Regions from separate parts of the Homo sapiens genome. Here region 2 is linked to region 1. Evidence: promoter capture Hi-C in human tissues and cell types (Jung and others, 2019). All regions are on one chromosome and are shown on one strand. The core of a region is centred on a gene start or on the middle of the fragment in contact, and the rest is flanking DNA. Distances in the headings are between cores, read along the strand shown. Region 1 holds the start of CENPV (centromere protein V). Region 2 overlaps LOC105371554 (a long non-coding RNA gene).

What was found. Contacts are between HindIII fragments. The study calls those that stand out against the background at their distance.
Region 2: a contact is called between a fragment that was not itself captured here and the fragment with the promoter of CENPV in region 1, in 1 of the 25 tissues and cell types used here (psoas muscle).

The regions. Positions count from the first base shown.
Region 1 is chr17:16,352,134-16,356,845 of GRCh38, forward strand. CENPV (centromere protein V) reads right to left here and starts at 1,336. Exons shown (of 5, transcript NM_181716.3): 1 at 894-1,336. The coding sequence starts at 1,303. RefSeq lists silencers at 726-1,335, 1,396-1,545. The HindIII fragment of the contact is 38,840 bases long and covers 29-4,712 here.
Region 2 is chr17:16,540,934-16,545,493 of GRCh38, forward strand. LOC105371554 (a long non-coding RNA gene) reads left to right here. Exons shown (of 4, transcript XR_007065637.1): 4 at 1-3,153. Among named protein-coding and RNA genes, the nearest start is that of ZNF287, 26 kb to the right of the region's middle. The HindIII fragment of the contact is 3,155 bases long and covers 1,014-4,168 here.

The sequences.
Region 1 (4,712 bases), core at 86-2,585:
CCTAGTGTTTTGATTGTTCTTTTTAATTCGTAAAATTGACACTGAAATATAATATCAGGGCGTTAAAATATCTCTCTGTAGCACAACTGTTCCCCGAGGCAGGAATCCAGATCGCATTTGGAGAAAAGAAGGCAGCCCTTTAACAGCCCAGTTAAAAGCTCTTTCCCAAATCGCGGACACTCGAGATGCTCCTCGGGCCATCTAAAAGACTGCGGAGCAGCCAGGAGGGCGAGCGGCAGGGAGCATTAGCTGGCTGAGCACATAAAAGCCTCCCTACGTAGGTATCCCCGCCGCCGCGCGAGGCCGGAGCATCTCTTCGCGCGCGCTTCTCTCCCGGATCAATAACCTCCGCCCCCTGCTCCCTCCCTGGCAGTGCCTGGAACAATGACGGGATTTTGCTTCCCAGTGAGTTCAAAACTATTCATGCTTCCTTCAACGCTTCTACCTTTCCCTTCCACCCACCCTCAAAAACACGTGTGCAAACACAAAAAAAAAGGGGATTCGGGTAAGAGAAAGCCGTGGGATTTATGTTCTTTTCACTAAGAAAGGCCCCCACACCCTTTGCGCGCCAGCAAGAGACAACGTCCCCGAGCACGATGCTTATGGCCGGGAAAGACTCTTTGTGTCCCAAGACGGCTGCGCGCGCCCTCAAGCTCCGGACGAAGCCCCCTTTCCATTCCCAGGCCACACAGCCCTAGAAGCACCGCCCCGCCCCGCCGCCCTTAGAATTAAGGAATAACCCCAGTGCTAACGGGGGAGCCGCGTCGGCTCCGTAACGTGGAAGGCTCAGAGCTGAAAGGCGCCCAAGGCCTGCACGCGGGCTGCGAGCCCGACTCCTGCCGAGGGGGTCCGCGTGGCAACGGCTCCCGCGCCCCCCGGCCCGCCGCACTCACAAGGTGTCTAGCAGGAGCTTGGCGGCACCCTCGGAGGTAAGCTTCTGCCGCTTCTGGAACGTCTCCCAGCGCTCCCGCTGCTCGCCCAGGTCCAGGTTGGACGCCGAGGACGTCGGGGTCGCGGGAGTCGGCGGCGGCGGCGGCGGTGGCGGGAGCAACGCCAGCTCAGGCGGCGGCGGCTCCCCCGGGCCCTCCTCCTGGGCCCGCGGCGACGAGCGCCTCAGCCGCGGCTTCTCCGACGGCGGCTTCTCCACCGCCTGGCTCTTGCTCCCGGCCTGGCTAGCGGAGCGCCGTGTGCGGGTGGCGCTGGGTGCCAAGGCAGCGGCCGCGGAGGCCGCGGGGGCCGCGGAGGCCCCGGACCGCTTCTGCCCGCGCAGCTTGGCGGCCGCAGAGCTCCTCGATCGCCGCATGGCTCCCGCAGCCTGGCGCGCAGGCCTCGCAGCGCGGCGCGCCCCCGCCGGCCTGCGCGCGCCCCCGCCGCCCGCCAGTCTTCAGGCCCAGGGGGCGCTGCGCCCGGCTGCCCCGCTCCGCCAGCCGCGCCCCGCAGCGCGGCGCCTGCCCGCAGGAGGGAGACCCGGCCCGCCCGGCCGCTGGGACGCACCTGCCTGTTCAGTCCCGCAGGCAGAGGGGCTGCGCCTGGGCCTACGCTCGCGATACCCAGAATCCACTCGCACCTGCGAAGGCGCCCCTGCCCTGTGTGAATCCAGCGGGCTCTTCGTACCTTCCCGACCTGGAGGGGCCTGGGTTGGGCCTGAATTCGCAGGCTCATCCGAGCGGGCAGCCTGGGGTAACTTCGTCTCCAAAAACGAGCTAATTTGTGTAAACGGCCTGCCACCTGCTACCTCCTGTGTAACAGCGGCCGAAACCATAGTTCTTCACCTTCGTCTTTTCTGTCACATTATAGAACAGTGTCATGAGGATACCAATAGTCAACAGATTTGGGGTTTCATTTTAATTAAATGAATGACCCGCGCGTCGAATTTCATTAGTATGATTTTGATGAAGGCAGCACCAAAGTTTAAAGACAAAAGGCACGAGAATCGTTGATGGAACCCAGATAGTCTTCTTCTCCTTCTCCTTCTTCTTCTTTTTTCAGACCGAGTTTCGCTCTTGTTGCCCAGGCTGGAGTGCAGTGACGCGATCTCGCCTCACCGCAACCTCCGCCTCCCAGGTTCAAGCGATTCTCCTGCCTCAGCCTCCTGAGTAGCTGGGATTACAGGCATTCGCCACCACACCCGGCTAATTTTGTATTTTTAGTAGAGACGGGGTTTCACCATGTTGGTCAGGCTGGTGCCGAATACTCCCGACCTCAGGTGATCCATCCGCCTCGGCCTCCCAAAGCGCTGGGATTACAGGCCTGAGCCACCGGGCCCAGCCTATCTTTCTTTTTTTTTTTTTTTTTTTTTTCTTTTTTGGAGTCTCACTCTGTCGCCAGGCTGGAGTGCAGTGGCGCGATCTCGGTTCACGCAACCTCCGCCTCACCGTTCCAGCGATTCTCCTGCGTCAGCCTATCTTTCTTCTTTATTCTGATTTTCTTCATGGTATTGTTAGTTTAATAGTTTATTGAATTAAAGGCATAGTTTAACTATTTTGTCTTTTTTTTTTTTTTTCCATACAGGATCTGACAGACTGGAGTGCAGTAGCGGGATCTCGGCTCAGTGTAGCCAAGAACTCCTGGCCTCAAGCGATCCTGCCGCCTGGGCCTCTGGAGTAGCTGAGTAGCTGGAACAACAGGCGGCGCCCCCCCCCCCCCCCCCCCGCCCCAGCGAATTGTTGCTATTGTTGTTTTGTAGATACCGGGTTTCCCTATGTTGCCCAGGCTGGTCTCTAACTCCTGGCCTCAAGCGATCCTCCCGCCTAGTTCTCCCCAAGTGTTGGGATTACAGGCGTGAGCCACCGAGCCCCACCTTGCCATTTTGTCGTTGTTGTTGTTGGAATTATGGTTTACACACAGCAACGTGCAAATATCTTAGATGTACAGCTTATGTGACCACCACCACTTCAGATACAGAACATTTTCAGCACACCAGAGTTTCCCTCAGGCAAAAGAAAACAGAGGCGATCACTGTTCTTTTACCACCATAGGTTGGTTTTGCTTATTCTTGAACATCATTTTAAAACGGCACGTAGGCCGGGCGCAGTGGCTCATGCCTAATCCCAACACTATTGGGAGGCCGAGGTGCTCAGATCGCTTGAGCCCAGGAGTTTGAGACCAGGAGGTGGAAGCTGCGGTGAGCTGTGATTACACCACCATATTCTACTCTGGGTGACAGAGTGAGACCTTGTCTCAAAAAAAAAAAAAAAAAAAAAAAGCTGGGTGTGGGGAGTGGTTATCCTTGAGGAGAACTAACTGGGAAAGAGAACAAAGGACTCTTCTAAGATGCTGGATATGGCCAGGCACAGTGGCTCATGCCTGTAATCCCAGCACTTTGGGAGGCGGAGGTGGGCAGGAGTTTGAAACCAGCCTGGCCAACATGGGGAAACCCTGTCTCTACTAGAAATACAAAAACTAGCTGGGCATGCTGGCAGGCACCTGTAATCCCAGCTACTCGGGAGGCTGAGACAGGAGAATCGCTTGAATTCAGGAGGTGGCGGTTGTAGTGAGCCGGAGGTTGCACCATTGCACTCCAACCTGGGCAACAGAGTAAGACTCCGTCTCAAAGAAAAAAAAAGATACTGGATATGTTCTCTACATTATCTTGATCTGGGTGGTAGTTATGGAGGTGTGTAAAACACATAAAAACACTTCAGTGTGTGTAAGACTTAGCTCAATTTAAAAATGAAGAACATGGCTGGGCATGGTGGCTCACGCCTGTAATCCCAGCACTTTGGGAGGCCAAGGTGCCGGATCACCTGAGGTCAAGAGTTTGAGACCAGCCTGACCAACGTGGAGAAACCTCATCTCTAATAAAAATACAAAATTAGCCAGGCGTGGTAGCACATGCCTGTAATCCCAGCTATTCAGGAGGCTGAGGCAGGAGAATCACTTGAACCCGGGAGGTGGAGGTTGCAGTGAGCTGAGATCGGCCATTGCACTCCAGCCTGGGCAACAAGAACAAAACTCTGTATCAAAAAAAAAAAAAAAAAAAAAGAAGAAGAAGAACAACAACATAAGTTAGGCTATTATTTTAAAGACATTATATCATTAAGTAGGTTTGAGGTGAAGAAAATAATTGAATAGTTATTGCAAACCCAAAACTCAAGAACGCAATTAAAAAGGCATGTGCTGGCTGGGCACAGTGGCTCATGCCTGTAATCCCAGCACTTTGGGAGGCCAAGGAGGGCAGATCACTGAGGTCAGGAGTTCGAGACCACCTTGGCCAACATGGTGAAACCCCGTCTCTACTAAAATTACAAAAAATAGCTGGGCATGGTTGTGGGCGCCTGTAATCCCAGCTACTCGGGAGGCTGAGGGAGGAGAATCGCTTGAACCTGGGAAGTGGAGGTTGCAGTGAGATTGCACTCCAGCCTGAAACAAAACTCCATCTCAAAAAAAAAAAAAAAAGAGGCCGGGCGTGGTGACTCACGCCTGTAATCCCAGCACTTTGGGAGGCCGAGACGGGTGGATTACTTTAAGTCAAGAGTTCGAGACCACCCTGGCCAACATGATGAAACCCCATCTCTACTTAAAACATACAAAAAATTAGTCGGGCATGATGGTGCGCGCCTATAGTCCCAGCTACTCAGGAGGCTGAGACAGGAGAATCGCTTGAACATGGGAGGCGGAGGTTGCAGTGAGCCAAGATTGTGCCACTGCACTCCAGTCTGGGCGACAGAGGGAGACTCGATCTCAGAACGATCAAACAAACAAAAAAGGCA
Region 2 (4,560 bases), core at 1,341-3,840, 190 kb after region 1:
ATATGGAAGCTTTCCAATATTTAACTCAGGTATGTAACCTCTCATGAAGGGATGTTATGTTGCTGCTAAGGCAAACCCTTACTGTAGGTAAAATAAGCAGCTCTGCAAGCAGAAGAAAATTTTGGAGATAAGTAATGTCTCCTATAGAAGGCCAAAAGGGAAAAGAAAAAAATAGGGAAGGCAAAGGGGAAACACCATTCCCAATAGGAAAAGAGGCAATACCTCCTGACAACCCTAATTGGAACTCCTTTCTGTGGTGTTTTTCCTTGTTTTGCAGTTTAAAATGGCTTCTCTTTTATAATGTTCTTCCAACATGGAAAAGGTTAATTTTCCAAACCTTAAAATGTTTGGCATAGAGTTGAGCTAGGGGGAAGGAAACCCAGCCCAGAAGCCTGATATGCTGGCAAAAGGGTAAAAATTTCTTACCAGTCAGGCTTTTGGCTTCTCTCTTCCTGTGGAAACCGGCAAAAGGGATAATAAAGATCATTGTTTATGTTTTCTTTAAATTTATAGTTAATGAAAAAGGATTTGTGAGGTTGGTCTTAAGCTGTAAACAATCTGCTCTTCTTTGTATGTCTTTCTGTGTGGTTCTGTTAAAGAAAAGGTATCTTAGGTCAGGATGCAGGCCCAGAAACCCATAAGCCTGCTGTTCAAACCAGCCCAGCAAAGTATCCAGTGGCAAACTTGGCTACAGGCCTCCATCTTGTTTCATGTCATGGGAACATAATCTGTAACCATGTGGCAATACTTTGTTTTTGTCTCCGCCATTTTACAATGGTGGCTGTCTTCTTGTGCTAAATCAGATAAGCCAGTTTGTCAGTCTGGGCTGTGTCAGCTGATCCATCAAGGGCAGGGTTTACAAAACATCTTAAGCACTGATCATAACAGCCGTTTAGGGAGGGTCAAAATCTTGTAGCCTCCAATTGCATGGCTCTTGGGCCATGGTTTCTAATCCTGTAGCTAGTTTCTTGGTCTGGTCCCCAGGCAAAAGGGAAGTATATCTTGAGAAGCAGCTGCTATCTTCTTTGTTTTAGACTATAAACTGTAAACCAAGCTCCTCCCCAACTTGATTCAGCCTATGCCCGGGGATGGGCAAGGACAGTTTGGGGACTGGAAACAAAATGGAGTTGTTTGGGTGAGATCTCTTCCACTGTCTCAGTCACAATTTTGCAGTGACAGTTTCAAAAGCTGCCTGTCCGGGTGGATCACGAGGTCAGGAGTTCAAGACCAGCCTAGTCAACATGACGAAACCCTGTCTCTACTAAAAAAACAAAAATTAGCCAGGCGTGGTGGCATGCACCTGTAGTCCTGGCTACTCAGGAAGCTGAGGCAGAGGAATTGCTTGAACCCAGGAGGCAGAGGTTGCAGTGAGCCAAGATCATGCTACTGCACTCCAGCCTGGGTGACAGAGCAAGACTCTGTCTCAGCAAAAAAAAAAAAAAAAAAAAAAAGCTGCCTGTCACTCCTTTAAAAATACCTTTTACACTCCTGGTTAAGTCATAACCTAATTAAAGCTCTTTAGTTTTACCTGTGAGGTTACTTATTGTAAAGTTCAAAAGCCAAAAATCTTAACTGCTTGGCATGGCTAAGGTCAAGTAACAAAGGATTTAGAAGAATTTTCTTAAAGAGTGCTCAGCTTAATTAAAAGTGGAAAATCAAGTTATAGGTATATTAAAAGGCCTTTATGTTTTTTCTTTTCTTGAATCTTGTTTTTCTGGAAAAAGGCTCATCTCAGCCGACTGAATTATTTTTCTCCATTTTTTGTCTTACTACTCTTAATGCATGTATAAAAGGCCCTAAGATAACTTCTGGTAGCATGGGACTCCTCAGGAAACACAGAGGAGGCGCCACAGACCCCGTTTTGGGAAAAAACCCTCTGTTTTCCTCATGAAACCCCAGGAATTAAAAGCAAATAATTCCCTCTCAAAATCAAAGGCTCTGTTCTGTTTTGCATTGTGTTATCTGATGGTTTTGAGTTTTGGGGGTATCAGAAATTACTTCGCATTTTTACAAGAAAGCTTTGGTGTGTAATAATCAAGTAGAAAATACACTGTAAGGGATGGCTAATAGTAGTTATAAATCAGGGATGCTCTTGGCCACCTGGAAGATAAGGAAACATCCTCACCCTGCACTGGGAGATGAGACTCCCATCAGGGATGGGCTAATTACAAAATAAGCCAATTGGCTTTGGGCTGCCTTGCAATGCAATGCATGGTAGAAGCACTACACCGTCCTCTCCCATAGTATCTATATGGTCTTTTCATAAATTAAGCATTAAAATAAAAGCATAGCAAGGAGGTCTTAAGACACTAATCTGCCCCTTAGTAAAAGGGTTATAAAAGGTTTGTAAAGATTTCACCTTGGCCGGGTGCGGTGGCTCACACCTGTAACCCCAGCACTTTGGGAGGCCGAGGCGGGCAGATCACCTGAGGTCGGGAGTTCGAGACCAGGCTGACAAACATGGAGAAGCCCCGTTTCTACTAAAAATACAAAATTAGCCAGGGGTGGTGGCACATGCCTGTAATCCCAGCTACTTGGGAGGCTGAGGCAGGAGAATCGCTTGAACCTGGGAGGCGGAGGTTGCAGTGAGCTGAGATCATGCCCTTGCACTCTAGCCTGTGCAACAAGAATGAAACTCCATCTCAAAAAAAAAAGAAAAAAAAAGATTTCACCTCATGGTCAAATTGGTTAGGATTTGATGGAATAATCTATAAGGTTTCGTGTAAACAAATTGGGGTTAACATTAATAAACTAATGCAAGGGTAAAATTTTGCTTTGAACAAGATTTTCATTTCATAATAAAGGCTAATGAAAGGATTTTGCCTTTTGAGTCATCATTTTGGCAAAATAATTTATGGCAATCTGGAAATTGTCCTTCCTGATACCTAACTTTTTGAATGGTTTAGAGGGGCCCTGAAACATTCAGAAAAGAGGTAAACAGGATTATTTGACATGTTTAGTCACATGAGATTGCCAAAATGATGTCCAATCTTATTTAAGTTATAGTTTGGTGAATAATACTAATATATGTTTCAGAATTGTATGGGATTTCTAAGATTCTAATGTCTAAGTATATGCTATCAATCATAATTAAGGGTAAAGTTATTGTAAACCATGAAGATAAATAAACTTCTTTGTCAGTCATGTTTTTAACTATCCTGAAAATTTTGTCATTCACAGACAATTGTTGTCCTGCTTTGTTCCTTTTCAAAAAATGGTTTATAATCAAGCTCTATTAAGGAGTTCAACAGGTGTTCTCAAATGCAGGTTTTTAATAGCTTTAAAGATTGTAACATTGGAATAGAGAGAGAATGTATGGGACTCACAAAGAACTAATATGTTCATAAATATCAAGCAAAACAAGAGTTAAGTAAATGGACTGCACTCAGAAAGTTAAAGCAGAGTTTTTAACTTTGCTTGGAATATTGCTGATCCTTGTTTTGTTTTTCAGAGTCAAGAAAAGTTTTAAACTATTTATGGCCTTTAATAATTGAGTAAGGTATACTCCTGTGAACAAAATTTGGAGCATATTTATTTGTCTCTGCCTGGTTCCTCTAGAATTTGGAGACTAGCTGTACTCTTAACTTAACGGCAATATAGCTCTTTGCATCAGTGCAATAAGAATCCATTTTTCTTTGTCAACAGGACACATTGGAAAAACTGGTTATTTTAACCAAGGCTTGAGGGTGTGTTTCCTTTTAAGGAATCAAGCTTGACATGCAGAGCAAATAAAAGCCCCTTGGGGAGAACTGGCCTCATACCTTGTCTGCACAGTCCCTGCACAAGATTCCTAACCTGTGGTCAGTAAAGAGTGTCACTTTCTAATAGGTCTGGGAGCTCCGAGTTTATCTTGGGGCCTCAAGAGGAGAGGATCACCCAACTCACAGGTATTTGAGGATACAAACCCATGGCTGGGCTTGGCTTTAAAAGGTCTTATCTGAGATTCCTTGTAGAACAGTTTCATCGAAGCCAATCCAAAAGGCCTGTGTAGAAATAACCTTTCTTGCTGCACTTTATGCAAACAATCAGGCCATGTATAGGACTAAAGTTTATTCTACAGACAACACACACGGGCCTATCATAATTTGTTTTTATCAAAAATGAGGACTGGAGAGAAAAACTGTGCTCCAAAGCTTATCATACATTTCTCCAAAACTTACTATACATTTCTCATTAAATCCTAGTCTCATCAATTGTTTTTAAGCTTTTTGCCTACATATTATACTAACTCTGCTTATTCCTGTGAATCAAGTGGTAATCCCCTACAGTTTGGAAGAAATAAAAAGGGATGGGTAATGTAAAAATCTGAATCAATATGCTAGTTCTGGGCAATTATCCTGCAAATTCTGCCAGTTAATGAAAGTGAGTATGATGCCCATTAACTCAGGTTTTTTTTTTTTTTTGTTTGGGAAAATAAAACCAAGGCTTCATAGACCACCAAAGGAAAATTCTGTATCTTGGCAAGTAAAATTTTACATGGAAGTTATCTACTACATCACACTTGTGGAAGTTGCTATACTCACTCTGCTATTTGCAAGAGGGTTATACGTGGTAGCACCT